2 separate regions of the Homo sapiens genome follow, and region 1 is linked to region 2. Evidence: promoter capture Hi-C in human tissues and cell types (Jung and others, 2019). All regions are on one chromosome and are shown on one strand. The core of a region is centred on a gene start or on the middle of the fragment in contact, and the rest is flanking DNA. Distances in the headings are between cores, read along the strand shown.

Region 1 (7,489 bases), core at 4,801-7,300, 350 kb after region 2:
CAAAAAAGGCGGTGCTTTGTGCTTGCATAGATACATAACCACAGCTGCGTAAGACAGCTTTACTGATAAGAGAAGTTACTCAAACTACTACAGAGATAAGAGATTTTCTTGCAAAAGCTTTTGAATTCAGCTGTAACAGGGCAATCCACTTGCATACTCAGCTCACTGTGGAGAGCTTTCTTCTTTCGCTTATTAAACTTTCGCTCCCACCTCACCTTATGTCCCGTTCCTTAATTTTCTTGGAGTAGGACAAAGAATCCCGGGTATCAGTCCAGACAAGGAGAAACTGCTACATTAAGGTACATTGGCAAGACTGCAACATGTGTATTCCATGTACTTTTTCATAAGTTATCTATTACGTAAGTGTAGATTTCATTTTCTATATATTTTTAAAAATAAAACAACTCTGAATTGTTCAAGATTTTAACCCCTGATTGTGCCTCCCAAGGCTTCCTAATCTGGTCTCCATTTACCCCTCCAAGTCACGCCTCTGTTCCAAACCGTTCAGCTTCTCCAGCCACTTTAGGCACCACCTCTGAGCCTTTGCTGTTTCCATGACCTTCCCCAAAACGAATAACCTCCTTCGCCCCTCTCCGCCTAAAAGACCCACAGATTCCCGGGCCTCTAAGCGCCCCGTTTCGTCCCATTCTGTTCTCGGACGCGCTCACTGCGCCCGCGCCACTGTCGCCACCCCGCGCGCCTCTGCCGTTTGCAGCCCGCGGCGCTTTCCCCTCCGCGGTTCCTCCCCGAGCCGCCCCCAGTGCCCAAGCTTCCGCGGCTCCGCCGACCAGGGGCCGCGCCGACTGGGAACTCGCCAGGGGCGTAGTCCCCTGCAAGGCCTGGGGGCCGGCGAGGCCGCAGAGGCGGGATGGGCCTGAGCCCGGGCGCCGAGGGGGAGTACGCGCTCCGCCTCCCTAGGATTCCCCCACCCCTCCCCAAACCCGCCTCGCGAACCGCCAGTACCGGGCCCAAGGACCAGCCGCCTGCGCTCAGACGTTCAGCTGTGCCCCACTCAGGTCAGCCCCAAGAATGCGGCTGAAGGACAATCCGCAATTGTCCTTCAGGTCCCAGCGGGCGGTTACCCTCAAAGCTCCTTTTCTTAAGACATTTGGCGATTGTGTTGTCTGTTAGCCATCATGAGCGAGTATTTCAGAACGACCGCTTGTTATAAAGCTAATCAAAGCGAGCCAGGCAGCCACTCCCTCCTTCCCGCTATATCTCATATGGAAGTGAGGCAGTGGTGGCAGCTCCGGAGGGTGGTGTTAAGACCGGCTCTGGCTCGGCAGAGGTTCCTCCCATCGGGCTTAGGATAGAGGCGAGGCGCCCTTCTTCATCCTCTCCCCGATTCCGTTCCCAGGAATCCCAAAGTCTCTCTTTGGCAGAGGAACTGAACCCGCTCCAGCACCTAGTTCCACAACCCTCTCCATTCATCCCAAGATTTTCTGAGGCCTAACCAGGGGCCAGGCACGATGCTAGACTAGAGCTCTGAGCCCACTCTCCGTAGCGGTCAAGGTGCTTGCTCGAACTCTCCTTTCACAGGTCTAAATAGCATTTCCCCCCTTGAATTAGAAGAATCCGTGGGATTCGCAGCGTTGGTCCAGCTCCCAGCCAAGCAGCCTCCGCCGGGCACATTAGAACAGGGCAGAAGCATCCAGCAAGGGTAAGAAGATTGTAAGGTTGGGGTCTTTGGGTGGAAGAAATCTTTTGGAGAATTGACTTGGAATGCAGTTCTGTAAAACAAACCCAGAGGTGGTTTTTGTGTGAACCAGCCAGCCGGTACCCAGCAAGGGGAAGGCTGGTGTGATCCTGGGTGATAACAGATGGTACTGGGCTTGGGACCTGCTGGCCACAGGCATGCGTTGCAGCTGTTTCTAGCCACAAGGCCATTCTCTAGACCCCAGAGAAATGAATGGCTTTAGCAGGAGGCTTACAGTATTGTCCTTGGTCTCACTAATCAGTGAACAATGAGTCGGCCTTTGGCAGATTTCCTGAATTCACTTTCATTAACAACATGATGATTGCTGCTTTAAAAAATTCCGAGGGGCTGAAATTTTGGAGAGGAGCTCTACTGAAAATGAGGGGTGTCCCCTCTGCCCCACACACTATTTTTTTCTGGAGAAGAGTTTAAAGCATGGGAAAAGGTAAAGAAAAAGTCATTTCTGAGTTGGTGGTATACCAGATGTTTACATGTGCTGTGTCCTTTCACCTTCTTGACCACTGTGAGACACATTTTCATCTCTATTTTTAAAGATAATCAAGCTGAGAGTCAGACATTAATTTACTAGCTCAAGGTGGGACAGCAATCATGAAAGCTAGGATTCAAACCTAGATCTTTTGGCTTCGAAGTATTTTACTCTACTATACTACCTTAATTTAATATGCTTGAAAGCATATTCTTGCCTTTCATTTCTGTCCTCTCCTGTAACATTTTGTTTCAAGGGAGAAATATACTGATTTCATTCATATTACTTGCAGTTGCAGTGTTGTGGCTTATCAAGCTTTCTTAGAAATCTGGGGCTAATTATTGGAAGAAAGAGTTCAAGGGGTTTGCCTCTGGGCAGTAGGGCTGGGATGAAAAGGGAAAGGAGGAAGGCTCCTTGCATTTCATTATAAATTCTTATGTACTGGAAACCATGTGCAAGTATCACTTTGATAAACATTAAAAAGACATTATTAGCAAATTAAAAAATAAAAACCCCCAAAACTGCTTCTTGCTATCATTAGCATTTGAACAATTGTCAGAAAACCAGCAAACAGCAATTCTTTTGTATGAAAGCTAATGGGTTCACAGAAACAAACGGGGGGAAATGTTCCCTACAGTCTCCAAACCAAAAGCCATCTTAAAAATCACAAATCTGTAATACAGATTTTCCAATAATTATGAAATAGTGATATTTGTTAACTTTGTGATTGCAAAATCATTTAGGGAGAAGGCTGTAGTTAGCTTGGAGACCACACCCAGCCAGAAAGCAGACTGGAGTTCAATTCCAAAGCCTGAGAATGAAGGCAAGTTAATAAAGCAAGCAGCTGAGGTAGGTGTAACAAGAATTCTCAAAGTGACTATCTTTAACCTCCTGGCAACTTCTCTACATATTGTATTTTACTTTGTTTCTAGGGGTGTCCAATCTTTAGGCTTCCCTGGGCCACACTGGAAGAAGAAACGTCTTGGGCCACACATAAAATACACTAACACTGACGATAGCTGTTGAGCTTAAAAAAAAAAAAAACCCACAAAAAAGTCTCATAATGTTTTAATAAAGTTTACAAATTTGTGTTGGGCCACATTCAAAGCTGTCCTGGGCTGTATGTGGCCTGTGGGCTGCGGGTTGGACAAACTTGGTTTAGATGGTCTAATAAATATCCTGATTTGGGATGTTGGTTATGCTTTGTTTTAAAGCAGTTTTATTGAGGTGTAATTGACATATAGTAAACTCCACATATCTAAAATATACAATTTGATAAATTTGGCATATATATATGCCAGTGAAGTGTATAGTTTGATACATTTTGACATCTATATATATATCCTGTCAAATCTTCACCACAATCAAGATAATGAATAATCTCTGTCATTTACAAAAGTTTCTTTGTGCCTTTTGTAATCCCTCTCTCTTCCCATACCACTCCCATCCCCAGGCAACAACTGATATGCTTTTTGTCACCATAGATGTGTTCACATTTTTAGAGATTTATATGAAATCATATTGTATGTGCACTTCTTTGTCTGTCTCCTTCATATAACTATATATATTTTTTTCGAGATGGAGTCTCGCTCTGTCGCCCAGGCTGGAGTGCAGTGGCGTGATCTTGGCTCACTGCAAGCTCTGCCTCTTGGGCTCACGCCATTCTCCTGCCTCAGCCTCCCGAGTAGCTGGGACTAGAGGCACCTGCCACCATGCCCGGCTAATTTTTTGTATTTTTGGTAGAGACGGGGTTTCACTGTGTTAGCCAGGATGGTCTCGATCTCCCGACCTCATGATCCTCCCGCCTCGGCTTCCCAAAGTGTTGGGATTACAGGCATGAGCCACTGCAGCCAGCCCATATAACTATTTTGACTGACATCCATGTTGTTGCTTTTTATCAACAGTTCATTCCTTTTTATTACTGAGCAGTATTTCATTGTATGGATATACCACTCTTGTTTATGTGTTCACCTGTTGATTGAGCATTTGAGTTGTTACTAGTTTTTGACTATCACAAATCTGCTTGAACATTTATGTACGAGTCTTTGTGCAGACTGTATATTTTTTCCTCTTGGGTGAATATGTAGGAATGAAATGGCTAGGTCATGTGGTAGATGTATATTTAATTTACTGTTTTCCTTAACATTTTTTTTTTCTTTTTTGGGGCTTTCCAAGCCTGCCAGACAAATTCTAAAAGAGCTCTAACCTTAACTTACTGTTTTCCACAGTGGTTGTATCATTTTACATTCCTACCAGCAGTTTATAAGAGTTCCAGTTCATCAGCATTTGGCATGGTCAAAATCTTCTAAATTTTAGCTATTTTAATAGATGTGTAGGTATCTCATTGTGGTTTTCATTTGCATTTTCCTAATGACTAATAATGTTGAACGTCTTTTCATGCGTATATTTGCCATCCATATATATAATCTTTGGTGAAGTGTTCAAATCTTTTGCCCATTTTTTCCTATTGGTTTGTATGTTTTGAGAGTTCTTCAGAAGTTCTGTATACAAGTACGTCATCAGATATATACTTTATAATATTTTCTCTCCATCTGTGGCTTGTCTCTTCAGAACAGGTTCTTAAATTTTGATGAAGTCCAATGTGTCAGCTTTTCCTTTTATAAAACGGAAATGTAATGAAATACTGCTCAGTAATAAAAAGGAATGAACTGTTGATAAAAAGCAACAACACGGATGTCACTCAAAATAGTTATATGAAGGAGACCGCCAAAGAAGTGGACATACAACATGATTTCATATAAATCTCTATGAATAGTGCCTTTGGTGGTGTATCTAAGAGACCTTTGCCTAATCCAGTGTCACAAAGATTTTCTCCTGTTTTCTTCTAGGTATTTTATAGTTTTGTTTTTTACATTTACATATTTGATACATTTTTATCTGTATTTTTATTTCAATAGTTTTGGGGGAACAGGTGGTGTTTGGTTGCATGCAAAAGTTCCTTCGTGGTGATTTCTGAGATTTTAGTGCATCCATCACCTGAGCAGTGTACACTATACTCAATGTGTAGTCTTTTATCCCTCACCCCACTCCCACCCTTCCCTTCTGAGTCCCTAAAGTTGATTACATCATTCTTATGCCTTTGTGCCCTCATAGCTAGCCCCCACTTATAAGTGAGAGCATATGATTTTTTTGTTTTCCATTCCTGAGTTACTTCACTTAGAATAATGGTCTCCAGCTCTATCCAGGTTGCTGTGAATGTCATTGTTTCATTCCTTTTTACGGCTGAGTAGTATTCCGTGGTGTGTGTGTATGTGTGTGTGTGTGCATATATATATATACCACATTTTCTTTGTCCACTCATTGGTTGATGGTCATTTAGGCTGGTTCCATATTTTTGCAGTTGTGAATTGTGCTGCTATAAACATGCATGTGCAAGTGCCTTTTTCATACAATGACTTCTTTTCCTCTGGTTAGATACCCAGTAGTGGGATTGCTGGATCAAATTGTTGTGCTACTTCTAGTTCTTTAAGGAGTCTCCATGGTGTTTTCCATAGTGATTGTATCAGTTTACATCCCCACCAGCAGTGTAAAAGTGTTCCCTTTTCACCACATCTATGCCAACACATATTATTTTTTTTATTTTTAAGTTATGGCCATTTTGGAGGAGTAAGGTGGTATTATTGCATCGTGGTTTTGATTTGCATTTCTCTGATAATTAGTGACGTTGAGCAGTTTTTTAATATGTTTGTTGGCCATTTGTATATCTTCTTTTGAGAATTGCCTGTTCATGTCCTTTGCCCACTTTTTGATGGGATTGTTTTTTTCCTTGCTGATTTATTTGCTTGATTTCCTTGCAGATTTTGGATATTAGTCCTTTGTTGAATGCATAGTTTGTACAAATTCTCTCCCACTCTGTGGGTTGTCCGTTTACTCTGCTTATTGTTTCTTTTGCTGTGCAGAAGCTTTTTGGTTTAATTAGGTCCCATCTATTTATCTTTGTTTATGTTGCATTTGCTTTTGGGTTCTTGATCATGAACTCTTTTCCTAAGCCAATGTCTAGAAGGGTTTTTCTGATGTTATCTTCTAGAATTTTTATGGTTTCATATCTTAGATTTAAATCTTTGATGCATCTTGAGTTGATTTTTGTAGAAGGTGAGAGTTGAGGATCCAGCTTTATTCTTCTACATGTGGCTTGCCAATTATCCCAGCATTTTTTGTTGAATAGGATGTCCTTTTCTACTTTATGTTTTTGTTTGCTTTGTTGAAGACAGTTGGCTGTATTTTGTTTTATTTCTGGGTTCCCTATTCTGTTACATTGGTCTACATGCCTGTTTTTATACCAGTACCATGCTGTTTTGGTAACTATAGCCTTGCAGTATAGTTCAAAGTCAGGTAATGTGATGCCTCAAGATTTGTTCTTTTTGCTTAGTCTTGCTTTGGCTATGTGGGCTCTTTTTTGGTTCCATACTAATTTTAGGATTGTTTCATTCTAGTTCTGTGAATAGGTATTTTGATGGGAATTACACTAAATTTGTAGATTGCTTTTGGCAGTATGATCATTTTCACAATATTGATTCTACCCATCCATGAGCATGAGATGTGTTTCCATTTGTTTGTGTCATCTGTGATTTCTTTCAGCAGTGTTTTGTTTTCCTTGTAGAGATCTTTCATGTCTTTGGTTAGGTATATTCCTAAGTATTTTTTTTTTTTTACAGCTGTTTTAGAAGGGGTTGAGTTCTTGATTTGATTCTCAGCTTGGTCATTGTTGGTGTACAGCAGGGCTACTGATTTGTGTACAATAATTTTGTATCCTGAAACTTTGCTAAATTGATTTACCAGTTCTAGGACTTTTTGGATTAGGCTTTAGGGTTTTCCAGGTCTATGATCATATCAGCAAACAGCAACAGTTTGACTTCCTTTTTACTGATTTGGATGCCCTTTATTTCTTTCTCTTGTCTGATTGCTCTGGCTAGGACTTCTAGCACTATGTCGAATAAATGTGGTGAAAGTGGGCATCCTCGTCTTTTTCCAGTTATCTGGGGGAATGCTTTCAACTTTTCCCCAATCACTATAATGTTGGCTGTGGGTTTGTCGTAGATGGCTTTTATTGCCTTGAGGTTTGTCCCTTTTATGCTGATTTTGTTGAGGTTTTTAATCATAAAGGGATGCTGGATCTTGTCAAATGCTATTTCTGTGTCTATTGAGATAATCATGTGATTTTTGTTTTTAATTCTGTTTATGTGATATATCACATTTATTGACTTGCATATATTAAACCATCCCTGCATCCCTGCTATAAAACCCACTTGATCATGGTGGATTATCTTTTTGATATGCTGTTTGAT
Region 2 (7,230 bases), core at 4,318-6,817:
ACCAACTCTGCTTAGGACATTTATGCTGAGAAAAATCTCCAGCCCAAACTTTGGTTGGTCTGAAAGATTAAGTTATCCTTGTGCAAACTTTATTTTAATCTGCAGCAGGCCGAGTTTCAACAACTGTCTTATATCCATCTGTTTAGCTACTTTCCGAAGTCCATAAATTGGAGAAAAGTAATTTTTTTTTTCTGAGATAGTGTCTTGCTCTGTCACCCAGGCTGAAGTGCAGTGGCACAAACACAGCTCAATGCAGTCTCGACCTCCCCAGCTCAAGCCATCCTCCTGCCTCAGCCTTCTGTGTAGCTGCAACCACAGGCATGTGCCACCATGCCCAGCTAAATTTAAAAAAATTTTTTTGTAGAGATGGAGTCTCACTTTATTGATCAGGCTGGTCTTGAACTCCTGGCCTCAAGCAATCCTCCTGCCTTGGCTTCCCAAAGTGCTAGGACTACAGGCATGAGCCATGGTGCCTGACCAGAGAGAAATTATTCTAATTTACTAGGTACAGTTACTTTTCAGATTCAAAGGTTACGAACTCCAAGGACTCCCAAAGCCCTTGCTCTAACAACACTTCCTTCCTGATCTCTAGGGCCAAGCCGAAAGTGACACTATTTGGTCTGACATTCACCCACATTCCTGACCAGAAGGCAGCACCACCAAGGACCCCCTGGCCAGAATCAAAGGACAGAGTGAGAATTAGCACCAGGGCACACTGCTGCACAGCTCAGAGTGTGGACTGAGATGCTAGCTAGCCGATCCAATCTACCTAAGTTACACCAAAAGCAAAAAAAAAATATTTATCCAGCAGATCACCTGAGGTCAGGAGATCGAGACCAGCTTGGCCAATATGGCAAAACCCCGTCTCTACTAAAAATACAAAAATTAGCCAGCATGGTGGTGGGCGCCTGTAGTCCCAGCTACTCCCAGGAGGCTGAGGCAGGAGAATCGCTTGACCCGGGAGGCGGAGGTTGCAGTGAGCCGAGATCGCATCGCTACACTCCAGCCTGGGCGACAGAGCAAGACTCTGTGTCAAAAAAAAAAAGAGTTTTATATATATATATATTTTTATCCAGAATCAACAATGGGGGTCCAGTGAGAGTGTTTGGAGTAGTTCAGCTGTTCCTTATAGGATCTTGTAACTTTGTTTTCTTCACCAGTACTTCTAAACTCCCCTTCCTAGAACTGAGAGAATAAACAATGCCGCTCACTGCCTAGAAGCCTGACAGCAGCCCCCTCCCTTCCCACTGCAGCAGAAGTGGGGCAAGTTTTCTCTCAATCCCTCTCTCATAGTTTCTGAGGCCCAGAGGTGGGGCAGGTCCCAGATGGAGTAGCCTCTCCCCCAGGTGTTATGGAAAACTCTAGCAGGTGAACTCTGGAAGCTGGACCTTTCTCCAGGCTTGCCTGTGACTGCTGCTGCTGGCTGGAAGACAAACAGTCATCTTGCTGATTGCTTTCACAACTGCCAAGCTTCAGGCCAGCAGAGTCATTTGGAAAAGAAGTGAACAAAAAGCTCAGCTCACAAACTAAGAATCCCCCAAGCTACGAGCCCCAGATTAGAACCCTCCTTCTGCAAAAGCAGGAAGTCTATGGCTGTGAAAAAGCACATCTGGAATCAGGTGTCACAAAAACCATCTTAAAGACAGGGCTTAACTTTTTTTTTTTTTTAATCTCCTACTTTCACTGTTATAAGCGAAGTGGACAGCACACAGGCAATCTCCCTGTAACGCAAGGTTTATTTTTATGCTTCAACATTTTCAGTGTCTGTGTGTTTCAGAGTGATTAAAGGGCTCCTGGAAACAGGTTCTCATCAGCCACATTTTTAAAGAAGAGGGAGAGGAAGAGCAAGAAAAGAGACTGGAGACAACCAGTGGTGTTTGTTTACCTATTTTCTGGTAAAACCAGTTTTAAATTTAAATAAGGTGACAGAGGACCTTTAGGGGAGGAAATCAGCCCAACTAAATCCCCTTTTTAAAAAAAATAACATTAAGACTATAGTAATGACCAAGCTTCCATGACTACTTTATCTAAAATCACAACAGGACCAAGAAGAGGTTTCTTTCACTTGGTGGCATGATCTATTCTCGGAGGCCAGTGTTTGATATACCTGGCCTTGTGACCTGAGGAGCTGCTGCTTGTCTTTTTTCCCGTTTTAAAGAATACAGGAATCAGGCCCGGCGCAGTGGCTCACACCTGTAATCCCAGCACTTTGGGAGGCCGGATCACGAGGACAGGAGACTGAGACCATCCTGGACAACATGGTGAAACGCTGTCTCTACTAAAATCCAAAAAATTAGCCGGGCGTGGCGGTGTGTGCCTGTAGTCCCAGCTACTCAGGAGGCTGAGGCAGGGGAATCGCTTGAACCCAGGAGGCGGAGATTGCAGTGAGCCAAGATTGTGCCACTGCACTCCAGCCTGGCGACAGAACGAGACTCTATCTCAAAAAAAAAAAAAAAAAAGAATACAGGAATCTGTCTGGAATAGGTGCATCCAAGGTTTTCCAAAGTCCCTGCTTTTACTGGAATGAGACTTAATATTAAATCGATACAGTGACTGGCTACCCTGAGAACAACAGTAGAAGGTATGAAGGGGCTAAGGAGAATCTAAGTCCATAAAGAGTAGAAATAGGATGGGTAATTAATAATCCTAACAGGATGACAATGTATGCAGCTACTGCTCTGGGCAAAGTTATCAAAGAGCAAAGAGCTTACTTACATTCCCAAATGGTCACTGATTGCTGCTATCATGGAATCAGTGGATGCACACTACGGTGGAATTCCTACTATATGCTCAGCAGTATGCTAGGCATGTAAGGAAGAAAGGAAATCAACACACACATCACAGGAAAAATACCATGGCAATAATACATTTACATGTAGTAAGCAGCACAAAGAAACCACACTGAGGCAGTCTGTTACTCTGCTCTGCTGAACACAATGCCCCCCACCAGCCTCACTGAGAGTAGGCACTCCATCGCCACTCCCCAAATGCCTGAGGGTGCCAGTCAGTCACTTGGCCTCCTCCTACCAGCTCACGATCAACAGTCTGGGAAAGTTCTCTGGTTAAGCAGGGTTTACCTGCTAAAACAAAGGTTGTGAGAGGAAAATGGGTGGAATAAGCAACCTCAAGAGGGCCCAGAGAAAGCAATTCCCAGTAAGGAGAGAGAAACAGCCGGTAGGCAAGGGAGAGAAAGACTGCGAGACACAGAACATGCTCCTCTGTCTCCAAAGACCCCTGTCCCATGCAGAACCAGCTGCCAAACCCAGTGATGAAATGGAAATCAACCATCCCTCCCTCTCAACCCCTATTTCACCCCCAGAAGCAAATAATCCACAAGTAATAAAAGGGTCAACCCTGCAGAGAAAAACTCTGCCTAGAACTTCTCTTTAGTTCCTAACTGCCCAGGTGACAGAGGGCCAGGGGGTAACAAAATAGAAAAACACAGTAAAAGAAAGGAGGTAAGATTTTTCAAAGAAGAATGTTCACATGCAAGAGAATACAACAACTGCTCTACCGGGCTACAAAGAAAGAAGGGAGTAAGAGGGAAACATAAAGGATGGAAGGAGGGGAAAGAAGGCAAAAAGCACAGCAGCCCCGGGGCAGAAGCACTTCTTTTTCAAGTCAAGTTTTTTTGGCCTAGTAAAGTTCTCCACCAAGAAAGGTATGACAGGCAGGGGACTCTGCACAGAGCAGTCAGCAAAGGACGCTAGAGATGGTGAAAGAAAGGGGAGGTGTGGAAAGTGGACGTCTCTGGGATCAAAAGTGAGATGACACAGAAAGGCTAAGACTTGGGTGAAAAACATAGCAGTGACTGCCAGGATGAGGGGGACCGTGTAGAGTCGTGAGGCTGAGGTGTAGCTCAAGAAACTAGCATGCAAAACACCTGGACTTCCTGGGCATTACAGAGACTTAGCCAATAGGAACAGAATGGATCCAAGCACGGTGTGGGGATACACAGGACATGAAGAAGGCAGGAGACTAATGCGGAGATGAAAGGCAACGCTGATTAAAAGGCACAGTAAGGAAGATGGGGTGAGGGTGGAGAAACAGGAAGGCAACAAGCAAGAAAGAAAATACTCTAAGTGCCAGGCACGGGAGTGAAGACACAGAAAGTCATCATGGTTTGTGTTCCAGCGTACGAAGACAGAAAGGCAAAAACTGTGATGCAGCGAGGTCTGGGAAAGGACTGAGCAACAGGTTGTGTTAATACGGTGGGGCCAAGTGTCTTTGGGTTGGGAGAAAGAGCCCAGTAGAAGGCTGGTAGAACACTCACAGAGAGAAACAAGAGGCCCAGGGACCTAAAAGCCAAACCCGAGGGGAAGAGAACAAGAGGGATCCAAAGACTCTGAAGGGAGTGATGATTGGAACCCCAAACGCAACCTGTGGGAAAACTATGCGCATGACAGCTGTGGGGAAACACGGAAGCGACAAATGCCAGCGCCAGGATCCAGGGAGCTCCTGGAGCAAAGAAGGGAAAGTGATGAGCAAAGAGTAGGCGAAGGATTTGGAAAGGTGATGAGGGTGGAGCTGGTGGGTTGCAAGCAAGAGGGAGAGCACAATTTGGAAAACGAAGAAGCAGGGTAGAAAAAGCTGGGGGAACTGCAAGGGGCCAGGGATCGAGAGCGCAGTCCAGGGCAAGGACCCTGAGGGTGATAACCCAGAGACTGGCAGAACCGGTGCGGGCGGAGGGGAAGCGAGGCAGGAGAGACGAAGGGAGAGGTGGACAACGATCTGTGGCAAATCGCGGGGTGCTGCTATTCGAGGAGCGGGAGGGTGGCTGCTTTAAGCGTGGGTGGAGGAAGACCAGAAAGGCCCCTGAGAGAAAAAGGGAAGAGAAAGGGAAGCTGGGGAGGTGACACGGAAGAGCGCAGGAGGGCGGTGAGGGGAGACGGGGGTTGGCAGAAAGACAAGTGTGCAGCTTGGAGTCAGGACGAGGTGGGTCCCAGGTCAGGACTCGGAAGCGGGATGTGCGGAGCCGGAGCCAGGAGCCGGATGACAGGGCAGCCGAGGCTTGCAGGATGGCAGCAGGGGCACGAGGAGAGCAGAAGAGGGAGGAGGCTCCGCAAGGTGCAAAGGGCCCAGCCAGAGAATTCGGGGAGCCCTCGGGGCTCCTTACCTGCTCCGTGTCCCTCTCGTTCAGCGTGGGTAGGGGGGTCCGAGCGCTGGACATGGCGCCGGTATCTCGGGGGAGGGAACCGAGAAGCTTGGAGGAAGGGAGGGAAGGGAAGGCGCGGAGCCCGGCCGGGCGGGGCTTCTCACAGCAGGAGCACCCGCCGCATGGGCCCCGGCCGGGGGTGCGGGGAGGCCGGGCAGCCGCTCACGCCAGCCCGGGGATGCGCCGCTCGGGCTAGGCCGCGCCGGCTCCGAGCGGCTCCGGACCGCACCCCCCCGACCCCCGGCTGGGCTGTGCCGCCTTTCGGCCGGGCCGCGCCGCTCCGCCTACTCTCTGCCGCCGCAGCCGGCCGCCTGCCTCGCTCCTCCCCTGCCCTCAGCGGCACTGCTCCGCGCCCGGCACACAGGCAGCCGCCGCCGGACCTGCTGCTCCCAACATGGCCGCCACCACCGCCGGCCCTCGGCTCTTTTCGCCGGCAGCAGCCGGAAACATCCGAAGCGGCTAGAAACGGGAGGTGGGGCGCGCCTTCTCCTCCCGGCCACAGACTACGGGTGAATTCCGGAAACAGCCGAAGAAGGTAAACCCCGGGGACGCGCTCTCCTCCTCGATTCCGAAGACGAAGCTTCGGCTCTGTTTACGGAAATCCACGAAGCGACCCCGGGTGCCTACCCCCCGCCCCCGTCCACGGCCATCCAGCCACGCCCACCGGCCTTTCCCCGCCCACTTCAAGGGGGCTTTCGGCAGTTTCCGGAAATACCCGAAGCTGCTCCGCGTGCTGAGCCGGCCACGCCCCCTCCCACAGCCCTGCCGAGGGCGGTCGTCGGCCATTTCCGGCAACACCCGAGGCCCTCCGAGCACCCGGTCGTTTCCCCGGGTGGCTCTCGGAGTCTGATTCGCTTCGTGTCTTTCCGTCAGTTTTCGGGCATTTTCAAACCTTGAACAGGAAGCGTGGGTCACCTGTCTGTGCTTGTGATTTGACTAAATACAAAACAAGATTGTTAGCCGTCCCTGTGATTGGCATCCTCTGGTTCTATAGCAGCTTCCTGTCTGCATTTCTGTCCATCTGTCGGTCAGCTCATAAAATTCATCTTCTTTTTATCATCTAGCCTATCAATATACCTGTCAAATGCAGCATCAGTCTATTGCCTGTCTGCCACCGTCTATCTTGGCTTCTGTGGATTCATCCGTGCATTCCCGCATCTAGTCCGCAGGGCTCGGCAAGGCCCCAGGCAGGCCCAGGGCAGCGTCCTCTGCACCGGATGCGGGAGCGTCCAGGGCCCTGCATTTCAGCCCCAGCTCTGCCAAGTGCCAATGCTGCGTGATCTTGGAAAAATCACATAACATCACTGAGTTTAGGCTCCTCTTTCCTTTGCCTTTGCTCCTGCGTTGACATTCAAAATGACATTTCTGAATTCCAGTTACCTTTTAAAATGCCTCTGCAAGATAAGGCATTTAAAGTTTCTTTTCTTTCCTCCTCTGGGCCTCATTTTCCCCATCAGTAAAGTGAAGCCATTGGATTCATGAACTCGGAGGTCCTTCTCAGCTTTGGAGAGCCCTTGACTAACAGGAAGTCTGTATGGCAACTGCAGTCCATTCCTCACTTCCCCTTACACTGCGTTACCAAGGACAGGGAGTATCCTGGGCTGATTTCCCCAGCGCCAAGCTGTCCTCACCCATAGTACCTGGAACACGTTGGAACCACACCCTCCCATCAGTGGCTTAAGGTGGGCAGGAGGCAGAGGCCCCGCAGGAGTCAGAAACCAGACTCAGGCAACAGGTTCCCAAAGGTACAGGAGCAGAGAGGCTCCAGGAGTTATTGGGAAAACTGCTGATTGGACCCCTGCTACTTGACCTCCAACTCCCAGCTACAGCATCTTGAGCCAGCCTTCATCCCATCAATCAGAGAAATAGGCATCTGAGCAGATGTAATTACCAGGGTATGAAAGTACTTCCTAAGGCAACAGGTATCACTACACTCTTAGTAAATCCTGGGACTTCAGCACTGCTCCCCATGCCCCATACCAGCTCTATTCAGGCACCCAACCGTTGAGGAAGAAGGTGAAGGCACACCCATGAAGGTGAGGGAAAGAGAGAAGAGGAGGACAGAGAACACCTCA

The links. Contacts are between HindIII fragments. The study calls those that stand out against the background at their distance.
Region 1: a contact is called between a fragment that was not itself captured here and the fragment with the promoter of MARK2 in region 2, in 2 of the 25 tissues and cell types used here (dorsolateral prefrontal cortex and hippocampus).

Annotation. Positions count from the first base shown.
Region 1 is chr11:63,484,414-63,491,902 of GRCh38, reverse strand. It overlaps PLAAT5 (phospholipase A and acyltransferase 5), which reads left to right and starts at 736. Exons shown (of 6, transcript NM_001146729.2): 1 at 736-1,016; 2 at 1,570-1,660; 3 at 2,927-3,032. The coding sequence starts at 869. It also overlaps the pseudogene LOC124902822. The HindIII fragment of the contact is 8,832 bases long and covers 1,635-7,489 here.
Region 2 is chr11:63,837,447-63,844,676 of GRCh38, reverse strand. It overlaps MARK2 (microtubule affinity regulating kinase 2), which reads right to left and starts at 5,567. Exons shown (of 19, transcript NM_001039469.3): 1 at 5,117-5,567. The coding sequence starts at 5,170. RefSeq lists a silencer at 5,233-5,472 and enhancers at 5,483-5,632, 5,893-6,881. The HindIII fragment of the contact is 8,965 bases long and covers 5,470-7,230 here.